Regions from separate parts of the Homo sapiens genome. Here region 2 is linked to region 1. Evidence: promoter capture Hi-C in human tissues and cell types (Jung and others, 2019). All regions are on one chromosome and are shown on one strand. Each heading gives the region's core, a stretch centred on a gene start or on the middle of the fragment in contact. The rest is flanking DNA. Distances are from core to core; before and after follow the strand shown. Region 1 holds the start of GP2 (glycoprotein 2). Region 2 has its middle 51 kb from the start of GP2.

Evidence for each region. The method cuts DNA at HindIII sites, captures the fragments that hold promoters and counts their contacts. A contact is called where the count stands out against the background at its distance.
Region 2: a contact is called between a fragment that was not itself captured here and the fragment with the promoter of GP2 in region 1, in 2 of the 25 tissues and cell types used here (dorsolateral prefrontal cortex and pancreas).

Annotation. Positions count from the first base shown.
Region 1 is chr16:20,323,629-20,330,229 of GRCh38, forward strand. GP2 (glycoprotein 2) reads right to left here and starts at 3,885. Exons shown (of 11, transcript NM_001502.4): 1 at 3,839-3,885; 2 at 2,710-2,839; 3 at 188-628. The coding sequence starts at 2,803. The HindIII fragment of the contact is 1,931 bases long and covers 2,555-4,485 here.
Region 2 is chr16:20,273,283-20,279,883 of GRCh38, forward strand. No RefSeq gene overlaps it. Among named protein-coding and RNA genes, the nearest start is that of GP2, 51 kb to the right of the region's middle. The HindIII fragment of the contact is 4,833 bases long and covers 1,274-6,106 here.

The DNA.
Region 1 (6,601 bases), core at 2,635-5,134:
TGGGAATTTCTGGCTTGAAATGTTGGAAGGTCTCAACCCCTGTGTTGAGTTCTCACTGGGCAGGAGCTGAGTCGAGGCTGCTCTGCATCCTCTCCTGTCTCCTCTTGACTTGCTCCACTCACTCTACTGAGCCTGGGAGGCATCTCATTGGCTGTGTAGCTGCCTCCTCCAGGGCTCTGCTGCTCACCTGTGCAGTATCTCAGATTACACCAGGGAGTGCCTTCCAACCGGTACACATGGTACCCGCCTGGGCAGGCCTTCACCAGCACCTCTGTTTTCCAGAAACAGCAGTTGCCACTCCAATGGGCACAGGCAGTGTGGTTGGTGATGCCATCCCCAAGGGCAGGGTGGGTCCCATTCAGCCACATGGGAGCGTCTGTCTGGCATCGGTGCACCTGGACACAGGTCTCCGACATCCTTACTCCTCCTTCCCCTACAAAGCGGTACCAGCCGCTCATGTTTTTATCGCACCCCTGGGACCCTGCTGAGTTCTCTGTGCTTCGGAAGGGTTCATCCAGGAGGGTGTAATTCTGACAGGGGTCAAAACAGACATGAGCCTCTGGGGTGCCAGGAGCTCCGCAGTCCAGGTCCAGCCCATACGAACTGGCTTCAATGGGGTTTCCATAACCTGGGAAAGTGACAGAGTGCAGTTGGGTTTACTGAGCAATGCCAGAACCTACAGGATTTTTTCCCCTCCATGCTCTATTTTGGCTGTGCTAAGGACTCCAATGAGGACAATACACACACGGTCCATTAATTAAACATCAACTTCATCACCTTGGGGGCAGAATAATCAGTGAGGACCTTCTGTGGTATTTTACAGGCATTGAGGACATCAGGGCTACCGTCCTGCACAGCCTCCCTCCCTGCCTCAGAGTAACAAAGTTCTTTCCTGTGCATCATGCAAACAGCAGCCTTGTTTGACCAATATTTGTTTTTCTCATTATAAATGTAATACAGGCTCACTGAAAAAGAACCTCAAACATCATTAAAATTAATAAAGCAGAAATGAAAGTTGTCATAAGCCCATCTCATCCCCAGAAGTAACAATAAATTTGTAATATAGCCTTCTTCTTAGGCAAGTTTAAAATATATTGCTTTCTTAAAAATAAAAATAAGTTTAATTCTGTGCAACATCTTTTTTTCCACTTGCATTTTTTACTTAATATAACATAGACATTTTTCCATACCAGTAGCACAGTCTATTGCAAGAACTCCCAACCTTGGCACTATTGACATTTTGGCTAGGTCATTCTTCACTGGAGGAGCCATCCTGTGCATTATAGAATGTTTAGGAGTATCCTTGACCTCTACCTACCAGATCCCACCAGCATGCCCCAAAGTGGTCTCCAGGCATTGCCAAATGTCTTCTTGGGGGGCATCGCCCCCAGTTGAGAACCACTGATCTAACAAGACCATTTCTGATTGTTGATCTACCATTTTTAAAAACAGTTTTAGAAACTGTGATGTATGAAGAGGCAGAGAAGTGAAGGAGGAAGACCACAGGCTGGTCAGGCTGAGTTTAAATCCAATTCTACACCTGCTGGCTGGGTGACCTTGGCAGGTGACTTAAGTCCCCTGAGACTCATTGGCAAAACCACACCTGTGAACCAGTGGTTCTCAAACTTTATCCGTTCCTACGCTTTGGGTCATGACCTTTGTCATACATGTGTTTGCCTGTCCTATTATTGACTTAAAATGTTTCTTTCAATGATTATCTTTTAAGAATTAGTTTCATCTTAAAGAATAATATCTGTGATAACATAGATATCATGTGCTAGTTATATTTTTTAGATGTGCATAAAAAATAAACATACAGCCATTAAAAACTTGTTAAGAGTTTGCCAGGCACCCCCAGAACCATCTTGGAATATATACACCTCATTTGGGGAAAGAAAGCCTTAAACGATTGTTAGAGGATTAAATGTGATAATATGTGTAAAATGCCAAGCACAGCACCAGGGTCAAGCTAATTGTCTTCTCTAGTTCTATTTTGTTGAATGCTGTAGATGCCTGAAGAAGGAGCTAAGTGCACACACAGGATCATGTGCTTACAATACACATTAAAGGGGCTTTCTAAAAAAAAGAGATTTTCAAGCTTTGCACATGCTTATAATACACATTAGAAGGGCCTTTCAGAAAAAAAGATTTTCAAACTTTGCTCATGCATGTACTTATTTTAAGACAAGGAATCACTGCATTTGTTATTCTTAGATTGTATTTTTCCACTGGAGGCCTCCAATGAGCTCAGTACCCTCTCCCACCCTCCTCCAGGGGCTGAAATTTGCACTCTAATTCTAAGCCTGAGACTCCTTTCTGCAAGTATCTGAATTGCCCACTTCATAAAGAGATCACTTAATCTAGCCCTTTCAGGAAAAGGAGAAGGCACTTGCCAGCACAAGGTGACTGAGTTATGTATTTCTTGATCTTCTTTAATCTGGGGTCTCTAATCTCCCAAAGATATGGGCATGGGAAATTATGTTAACTGGCTCCCACTGCCCTTTCAGAGGAATTTCTGATTAGGCTCTTTGAGAGATTGTGACTTGATTTCCATTGTTTCTCATTATGTTTCCCTTGACTTCTAGCTCTGAGTTTTTGCTTTAGAACTGCCAATTCCTCTTCCTTACCTGAGCCACCTTCTCTGCACTTCTATCCTCACTTGCTAGGTCTTCCTTGACATCTGAGATGCCAGGTGAGCAGAATACTTACCTCGCTGCACTGCAGATGCCTGGGTCAGAATGCAGGAGACCAAGGCCAGCCACAGGAGGCCAGAGCCCACCATCCTTTCCATAAGGTGAGGCATGCAGGTCACTTTGCTGTATGCAGACTTCCCATGCAGCTATGGGAAAGAAAAGACCAAGATAAGATTAGGGCATAGGTCTATGTTCTTAGAAACAGATCCGTTGACTTCCTTCATAAAGAGCTGCATTGTTTCAAAGTAGGTGTGACTTATGGACAGATAGAGCGAGATAATGGGTGATAAAATTGACAGTAAGCAAACCAAAGGCAAGCTTAGAGCTGGCTAGTACTGCAGAATGTCCTAGAAAGGTCTCAGGATGGTCCCTGCTCAGGTGGAAGTAGAGGCTCTTTGGAGATTGGATAGAGAAAAAGGGATATGGTACCTGTGAATACCTGCACACAAAAGTAATGGCTGCCCTTTCTTAGTTTTATGCATTGGGTGCTGCTAAGAGCCCCCTGAAATGTCCTCTATGGATGTAGATTTCTGTGACTGTGGAACCATGCCAAACCGAGCCTCATGTTCCTTGCTCCTAGTACAGAATCTGGCACACAAGGAGTACTCAGTAGAGGATTAAGGATGAATAAATAAATCAATGGGGGTTGGGGGCGGTGGCGAGGCAGAAAGAAAGAGCTGCAAAAAAGCCTGCCAGCATTTGGATGGCATTTACTTTTCTGGGAAATACTTTCCCTAAATGGCCAAATCTTTGGATAACTTCCTACAACCTCTGGAAGACTTCAGTGGAAAATAGAGATCGGTTTCGGGCAGGGATACCATGAGTATGCTATGAGACAGCAGGGATAGGGAAGCACCCAGGATTGGTGATTCTTAGAGATGAGATCCCAATAGAGACCTAGTTCCCTGGTGGGAATATCTGGGACAAGGAAGAGGGTGGCGTCCGTAGGCCTGGAGCATCGCAGATGACTGGAAGCATGACTGAGTTGGACATAGAGTGGTACCTGGAGCACTTGACAATGGCCAGGGTCCAAACTACTTGCTGGGTTCTAAAAATTTCCAGAAACAAAGAATCCTAGCATGTCCAGTGGATCAAGATTTCCCAGGATTAGGAGGAAGCCTCCTGGGGCTTAAAGCAGGACTTACCTCCGATGAGAACACAAAGCGTTCCTCCTCTGGCCAGCCATGGGAATGCAGCCTGCTGTGGGCCGTCTTTTTATTGCAATTTCCCACCCATGTGTCTCTCCTCAATTGGTGCACAGGTATGATGGGAGTTCTAGGCCATACACTGGGCTTGTTGAGTGGAGGTGAGATAAGCCATTTACGCAAAGGATGGTGAAAGAAGGGCCCTCCCCTCACAATGTCAACCCTTCCAGCTGTCTCAGCATTGTGCGAATGCTTCCTACAAACAATAGTGCTGTGTGCTGAATGCTGAACATGCTGGGCACTGCTTTGCGTTCTTGACTTCTCACATTTAATCTTCATAATTAATCAATGAAACTGGTGCCATATTTATTACCAGAAACCAAACACGAATTGAAAGGAAGCTTAATACCCAAAGGGAAGTGAAGAGAAAATCAAACAGGCACTTGTTTGCACAATGGATTTTCAGTTGTACCTTGTGTTCCTAGCTAATCATCTTGGAACATTTCTGCTTCTGTCTGAAGGCCACTGAGCTTGGGGCCAGTTAGACTAAGAGGACACATAGGAAAGGAAAGAAGGGAGTGTGGATGTTTCGAAAAATTCCATTTATTGGTCCATAGAATCTACCCAACTCCGGATTTCTAATGCTGAGCAGTTTTGGAATGGCTAATTTGGTGATGATGGATTTTGGAATGGCAAAGGACAGACAAAGGTTCTTGGACAAAAGAAGCACCAGAGTAGCCCCTGTAAATCCCTTTTGATATGTAGGCTGCCCTAGAGATTGGAAGGCATGAGACTGAGAAGAGGCTGTAGAGGATCTTGGACTTATTAACTCCAGGCTTGGACCTGGCTTTCATGACATGGTAGAAATCATGGACTTCATAAAAGAGCCAAAGCTTTTGCAGAAAAAATGGCCACTGCTTCTTCTCTGTCACTCTGGGACTCCTTAAGGAGCCAAGGCAACTGGAGTCAAGGGAGCAGGAGGGTCTTGGCATTGGTAACACCTTCTACAAAACCTCAACCTGGAAAAAGAAAAGGTGCTACAAGCCACCTTCTCTACTCCCAGAGCAACTGGAGAATAAATAGTCTCTAAAATGTGGAACTTGTGACAACTGGGCCCACTAAATCACCTACTGATCCATTCAGTCTGGCCAGGTGCCCATCCCAGTCTCCCCAGTGGCCACTCTTAACCTTCCCATTCCTCTTAAATGGTCTCTGCAGCTATTATCACCCACTCACACCACCTTTCTCAGCAGATATCTGGTACCCTACTTCAAAAACAATTTAGGCCACAACACCTGACCTTGCTCCTTCCCCTGTAAACATATAAATACTGGTCTCCATCCTCCACCCCTTCCCCCTCCAACTTCTGATAAGGCGATGTTCCTCCTTTTCAAAGTCAGTTCCTCCATCCCTCTTCTGGCTTCTCCATTCCAATCTGAACCATGTAGCTACAACTTTATAGCCAAATCCACTGGGTAGTTTGTTTCTGCTCCTTTGTGATTGGATTTGCCTACTGCTTGTTCCGGGTACCTTGCATTTCCTTGACTCCGCATGTTCATATTTTCTTGATTCTCCTGTTTCTACCTGGAGATTTCTGCTCTGTTGCTACAAGATCCTGTCTCTAAGAATGCTGGTTAGGTCCCATTTTTCTTTTCACGTCATAAACTCTCCCTGGGAGGTATCAAGTTATCTCATGGTTTCACATACCATCTCCAGGCTGGTGAGTTCTGAATCCGTATCCCCAGCTTTCGCTACTCCCTTGAACTTCAGTTCCATCTACCTATTGATTGCTGGACCTCTCACTGCCGCTGAGATGCTTGAGACACCTCAAACTCAGCAAGTGCAACTCTGAGCTCATCAAGTCACCTAAATCTTCTCCTCCTCATTGTATGATCTATTTTAATCAAAGGTGCCACTTGCCTCCCAGTCATCCAAGCTGGAAACTTGGCCTCTTCCTTTCTAAGCTCCTTCCTTTCTCCCTCTGCTCCCATTTCCAATAATCCTTTCTTCTCCATCTCCACCTCACCAATCCAAATTCGGGCCACCATTCCTTATGAAGGTAATTTTTTTTTTTTAGCAAGAGTCTTGCTCTGTTGCCCAGGCTACAGTGCAGTCACGTGATCATAGGCTCACTGCAGCCTTGATCTCCTGGGCTCAAATAATCCTCCCACCTCAGCCTCCTGAATAGCTGGGACTACAGTTGTAGGCCACCACATCTGGCTAATTTTTAAACTGTTTTGTAGAGGCAGCATCTTGCTATGTTGCCCAGGCTGGTCTTAAACATTTTGGCTTAAATTATCTTCCTGCCTTGCCCCCACAAAGTGCCAGGATTACAGACCTGAGCCTCTGCGCCCTGTCCAGAGTCATTTTAATAGCTGCCCAACAGGTCTCCCTGCTTTCATTCTTATTTTTGTTTGTTTTCTCCCCTGCAGCCAGAGGCCAGTGTACCATCTGTCAGCATTATCTCCCATTCCCAGCACTTTATGCTCCCTGGGATCTGACCCCTCTTTACAGTTCCAACCTCACCTATGACTTCTCCACCACACATTGCATGCTCCAGCCAATCTGTGGTTGTCTGGCCTCTTCCTCATCTTCAAGCCTTTGCATACGCTATTCCCTCAGCCTGCATCACTCTTCACCCAGCCTCCTCCTACGTTATCACCTCTTCCAGGAAGCTTTTCCTTTTTCTTTTTTTTGAGGTGGAGTTTTGCTCTTGTCACCCAGGCTGGGTGCAATGGCATGATCTTGGCTCACTGCAACCTC
Region 2 (6,601 bases), core at 2,440-4,939, 51 kb before region 1:
TCCCAGCCTTCTTTGCAGCTGGGAAAAGTCATATGACTAAGTTCTGGCTCATGGGAAATGTATAATTATGCAGTCTGTACTTGCACATACTTAAAGGAAAGAAGCATTTCTTTTCCCAGCTGGCTGGAAGGTAGAAATGCACCGTCTTGGACAGGGTGAATGAATGCAATGCCTAAGACAGCAGAACAACAATATAGGAAAAGCCTGAGATTTCTGAAATCATGGAACCTTCATTCCAGCCCTGGACAACTTACTTCTAGACTACTAAATGAGAGCAAAATAAAATTCAGTATTATTTAACCATTATTACTTGGGGGTTTCTGTTTTAGCAACCAAACTTGTATTCTAAATCATATAGTTTATCATTGTGTAAGACACATGGAACATAGTAGGTGCTCACTAAATTGTAGCTGTTGTTCATTTCTAGAGTTCTCCACCTAACAGTGGGAATGAAATTGTAGGCACTTATGGACTGTTCTTGCAGGGATAACCTTTACAAGAGGTGCCTTAATGGAGATGAAGCAATTTTGGATTAAGATAGATCTTTATGGAAAAAAATAAATGAAAATGACAGTAATACATTTGGTAAATCTGTGCAGATGCACAAGACATATTTTATGATGTAATGGGGATTTAAATGTGAATTTCAGCTCCAGAAAAAGGAAAGCATTGATTCTTTTGAAGGGGACTGGGGCTAGAAGAGAGGAAACTGTGACTCTCTGGAGACTTTCTAACCTGACGATAGCCAGCATCTTTTCTGCTGTATCTGATGTCATAGCCAAGGGCATGCCCTATTATTCTCCAGTGATTATAAGCTATAAAGCTATGTTTTGTCTCACCTTTGTTTATCAGCCTGGGCAATGGGCATGGTGAGAGCCTAGGTTTATCTTACAGGCCTATTGCTCCTTAGAGAAGAAAAGAGGAAGAGAAGTAAGGAGGAGTTTCAGATTCTTATTGGTTTAGCCAAGCACACAAAGATGGTATCAAGCCTCCAGAACAGCTGAGCCATCACCCCAGACCACAGCCATTGAGAGCACAATTGGCACCCTCAACTTCCAATAGAACTCTTGTATTCTAGGCAAAGCTTCTTAAGTACTACCCAGAATCCACTTCAATAGAGAATGTGAAGTTCAGCTACCCAGCAACATCCATCATTGATCTGCCCTGTGAGAAATCAGGTGGAAACCGTACACTGGACTTAGCAGAAAAAATAGATGCATGCACAGGTTTTGGATTCAGGAAGACCTGAGTTCGGATCTGAACTCTGAAACTTTCTTGCCAGGTGTGTGAACTCTGACAACTAAATTTAGCTGTTTGGAGGCCCAGTTCCTTCATTTATGATACGGGATTAACATATATTTTTATATCATAGTTGTAAGTTTTTATTATTAACCACCACCCTGGTTTGAAAGAGTCAAGACTTGAGATGAATTGGCCAGCTCATTGAAAATAAATTTGCAAGCTTGATAGAGGATGTGAAGTTCAACTATCCAGCAAAATTCATCATTGATCTGCCCTGTGAGAAATCAGATGGGAATGGTGCACTGGACCGAGCAGGAAAAAAAAAATGGTTTTGAGCCCTGACCCTATTGCTAACTTAATGTTTGATGTTAACTGTGTCCTTCCCATCCTCTGGACCTCTATTTCCTCATCTCTAAAATCCCTTCTGTGATCTCTGTTGTTCCAGCAAAATCTGGGCACCAATGTGATGACTCAGCCAAGGTCCCAGAGTGAATCAGCAAAGGCCAAGGAAGGACCAGTATCCCAATCTGGAGCTTTTTCCAGAGCTTTAAACAATGCCCTGCAAAAACCAGCTTAGCACTCATTTCATGCTGGGCATGATGGAATGTGCTGTGGTGGAGAGATGATGGTATGGAGATAAAACAAACAAACAACAACAACAACAAAACAAGGTCGCTGTGTGTGGTGGCTCACGTCTGTAATCCCAGCACTTTGGGAGGCTGAGGTAGGCAGATCACAAGGTCAGGAGTTCGAGACTAGCCTGACCAATGTGGTGAAATCCTGTCTCTACTAAAAATACAAAAATTAGCCAGGCATGGTGGCGCACACCTGTAATCCCAGCTACTCAGGAGGCCAAGGCAGAAGAATTGCTTGAACTCGGGAGGTGGAGGTTGCAGTGAGCCAAGATCACGCCACTGCACTCCAGTCTGGGCAACAGAGTGAGACTCTGTCTCAAAAACAAACAAACAAACAAACAAACAAAAAATGAAACAATGTCCCTGCCCATGAAGGGCTTACAATTGAGCTGATGAAACACAAACAGAAACCACATCATTTACCAGTTTCCCCAAAATCCTCTTCCTGCACATCTCATCACTCCATTTGTAGAAAGAAGCCCTATGAGCTCAGAACAGGCCTGTGGTTGAGCAGCTTCCACTCTGCCTCTCTGCTGATTCCTGCAGCTCTGCTCTTTCTCCTACTCTGGGCCTTGCACGTGCTGTTCCTACCACCCTCTTCTAATCTGCTTGCTTGGCTCATTCCTTTCAGAACTTAGTTCAGATCTCCCCACCTCCAGGAAGTCTTCCTTGATTCCCCAGAGTTGGGGTAGGTACTGCTTTTCAGTGCTCCCAGGGCCCCAGGATGCTCCTAGTGTAGCCCTTACTGGGAAGTGTTGTAGTTACTTGGTTTCTAATCCGTCTTCCACTCTGCACTGAAATTCCATGAGAAGAAAGAAGTTCAGTACCTGGGACATAGTTGGAGCTTCTTAAAATTGTTTATTCGCTACATTGCAGGGTTAAGCTTTGAAGAATGGGTAGGAATCAAATGGGAAGGGGGAAATGAACAGCATCCTTTAGGCATTGGGATGGAAACACATGCTTAAGTGTATGTGTGGGGTGGGGGTAACAAGTGACAGGGAATGTACAGTGTGGGGGCCGGAGCCATCTTTGGCTGAGCAGACCTTCTAGCCCACTGGCTTGATCTTAGTCCCCAGGGGTCTTCAGATTCTCCATGAGATGCACAATGGAGAAGCCTCCATCCCTGCCACATTTCCCTCAAGCATTTCCCAAGATTTGTTCTGGGTACTCACCTGTCCAGCAGCTGCTATTAGTGTTCAGACATTCTTGGGGGTCCATCTTCTAGGACAGGAGTCAGCGAACTTTTCTGCAATAGGACAGAGAGTAAATATTTTCAGGTTTGTAGGCCATGCAATTTCTGTAGTGAGTATGCCAATCTTATTAAAGCATGAAAGCAACTATAGACAATGTACAGACAAATGGGTGTGGCTATATTTCACTATAACTTTATTTACACAAACAGGCAGTGGGCCCTTTTCCACTATGCCTGAGTTTATACTAATGAGATGATTCAGAGTGGAGCCCCTAGATAGCTTCAGAATGGGGGCTGGGCACCAAAAAGACTACATGTGATTGTGTTGGGGGAGACTTTCATCCCTACTCACTGATGTCTGGGGGTGGGGAGGGGGACTGAAGATTGAGTTATAAAAACTCTTAATCAGTGAGATTCAGGGAACCTCTGGGTTGGTGGACACATTGATGTGCTGAGAGGGTGGTGCACTTGGGGAAGGCAGGCAAGCTCTATGCCACCCCATCATTCCCATACCTTGCCCTGTGCAATCTTTCATTTGCTTATTCCTGATACGTACCCTTTATAATAAACCAGCAAATGTAAATAAAGTGCCCTTCTGAGTTCTGTGTCATTCTAATGATTATTGAACCTGATGGAAGGTTGTGGGAACCCCTGAATTTGTAGTTGTCTGGGCAGCAGTGTAGGTAACTTGGACACCCGATTTGTGGCTGGTGTCTGCACTGGGGGCAGTCTTGAGGAACTAAGCTCTTGAGCTGTGGGGTCTGCACTAATTCTGAATAGTTAATAGTTAGTCAAAATAGAATTGAATTGTTAGACACCGAGTTGGTGTCAGAGAATTGGTTGGGTTGGAAAAAAAAAAACAAAAAACATGTGATGCCTTTGTAGGCCAGAATTTACCAACCTCTGCTTTATGGAAATGGTAGCATCATCTGAGAACAGGCAGCCCCTTCCCAAAGCCTCCAAATGTGCAGGAGTGGTTGCGGGCTTCTAGCTCATTCATGTTTGACAATTATTGAGCATCTACTATGTGGCAGGCACTGTGCAACCTGCTGGGCGTGTCATGGTAATCAAGATAGAAGAGATTCCTGTCCAGATGAAAGGCAAATTCTAGCAAACAAGGCCCGCAATAAGAAAATAAGAAAACAAAAGAACATTTCAGATCGTGATGGATTCCAGGAAGGGCATTTGTAGGGGATGTGATAGCACATAGTGTGTGCATGTGGGTGGGTTTGGGGATGCTGCTGTAGATACCTGTATTAATCTGTTTTCACACTGCTGATAAAGACATACCTAAGACTGGGCAATTTACAAAAGAAAGAGGTTTAATTGACTTACAGTTTCACATGTCTGGGGAGGCCTCACGATCATGGTGGAAGGCAAGGAGGAGCAAGTCACATCTTATATGGATGATGACAGGCAAAGAGAGCTTGTGCAGGGAAACTCCTATTTTTAAAACCATCAGATCTCATGAGACTTATTTACTATCACAAGATCAGCATGGGAAAAACCTGCCCCCATGATTCGATTACCTCCCACCGGGGCCCTCCCACAACACGTAGGAATTCAGGATGAGATTTGGATGGGGACACAGCCAAACTATATCAACACCTATGGGCAGGGAAGATGGTCTGTGAAGTTGACATTGAACGGAACCTCGAATAATGAGAAGGAGTGGGCCATAGGAGGAGCAGGAGGAAGAGAATTCTTGGAAGATGGAACAGCATATGCAAGATCACCCAAACTGGTAATAACCTGGCAGGTTCTAGGAGCTGAAAAGAGACCAGTGTGGGTGGAGTAAGTTTGTGAAATTTGTCTTTGGTTGAATGAGAGGACTCTCTACTCCATTGGCAGGACACAGCTATTTCCTTTAACAAGAAGGCATTGTGGGTGTATCTGTCATTTTCCCCTTTGGATTACATGAGAAAAATTATGATTGCTAATATTTGTTGGCTACTGTGCCATGTTAAGTGCTTTATTTTAATGATGTCTTTAAAGCCCAACAACAACTTTATGAAATATGGGCTATTATTTTTATTTCCATTTTGTAGTAGGGGAAACTAAGGCACAGAAGAATTTAATTAACTTGCCCCAAACACAGTTAGGCAGATCTGGGATTTGAACTGGCAGATTTGGGATTTGAACCCAGGAGTACAGATGACTATGCTCTCAGCTGCTAAACTATTCAACTATTTTCTTTGATTATGTTTCCCTCAGCCTCTTTGGGGGTAATGTATTTTCTCAAGTTCCCTGAAGTTGAGAGTCTGAGGAGGTTATACTAATAGTGGTAATACCTATTTCACTGACTGGCATCTCATCTGTGTAATGAAGGTCTTTGGGCTCTCCCTGCACTAGGCAAATTCTCACCCATAGAGTTTCACATAAACTCCCAGATAGTCCTCTCAGAGTGTGTATACTCCAAGTCCCTTTTCAGTGGCTATGTCTCACCAGCTCCCGCTGGAGCCATCTTGACAAATGCGTGAAGTCAAGGGTGGTGTCAATGGGTACTCCTCAAAGCTGGCAATCTGCAACACAGCAACAACATCAAAACGAGCCAGCACTTAGCAGATCCTTTCTCTATACCCATAAAAGCACCCTCCATGTAATAATTCATTTATCCCTCATAGTAAGCTTAGGAGGTAATCACTATTAATATACCCATTTTACAGATGAGAAAACCAAGGGGCAGACACATGAAGTAACTTGCCCCAAGTTGATTAGAAGAAGCAGAGCCAGGATTTGAATCCAGGTCATCTAGCCCAGAGCCTGCAGTCTGGTCCTACTGGATAATGCTGCATTCCCACTGTCATTCCTGAGCAGAAGCCACACTGCAGGCTGTGCCAAAATGACTCAAATGCTGCTCTCTGCCTGCATGTGCCCCACTTTGTCCCAGAGCCCCCAGAGCTGTATTGTCAGAGCCCCTCAAGTCTCACAGACACTCCTCAGCATCCCTCTCCTCAGGGCTCAGACACTAGCCGTGAAGCCTTTTTCTCAGATAGAACCCTTGTTACCTCAAACAAACGAACAATAAAAACTCCTGCAAAATCTGCCCACTTGACCGATCATTTTCTCGGTGTACTTTTTCTTTGCAGAGAGGCTGGAGCCTATCAGAGAGAATATTTATTTACCCAAATCTCTGAGAAGCCCTGCATTCAGTCTGCCTATTTTTTTTTCCTCCTTCAAATGGGCATTGTTCAATTGCAAACATCAGAAACTGGCTTTTGAAGCCAAAATTATATCCTAAGACCAATACTGATTTTATGCTACAAAAGATTTCTAGGAGAGCTGCAGTAAGCATTTCATTTTCTCATGGGTTAGGATAGGAAAAGGACCAAGAGAGTCCATCCCCTGAGGTTTTGACCTGAAGGTCAGATCTCTCATTGGGTGAAGGCTTTGAAATCAAAGCAAAGTGGAGTGTGGGTGGCAAGGCAGGAGGTGAAAGCCTGGAAGCTTTCTGCAAATACTACCTGTAGCCCAAGCAAGCACCAACTCCTGATAATCTTCATCACTGTAATGAAGTGTAAAACCTGAAGGA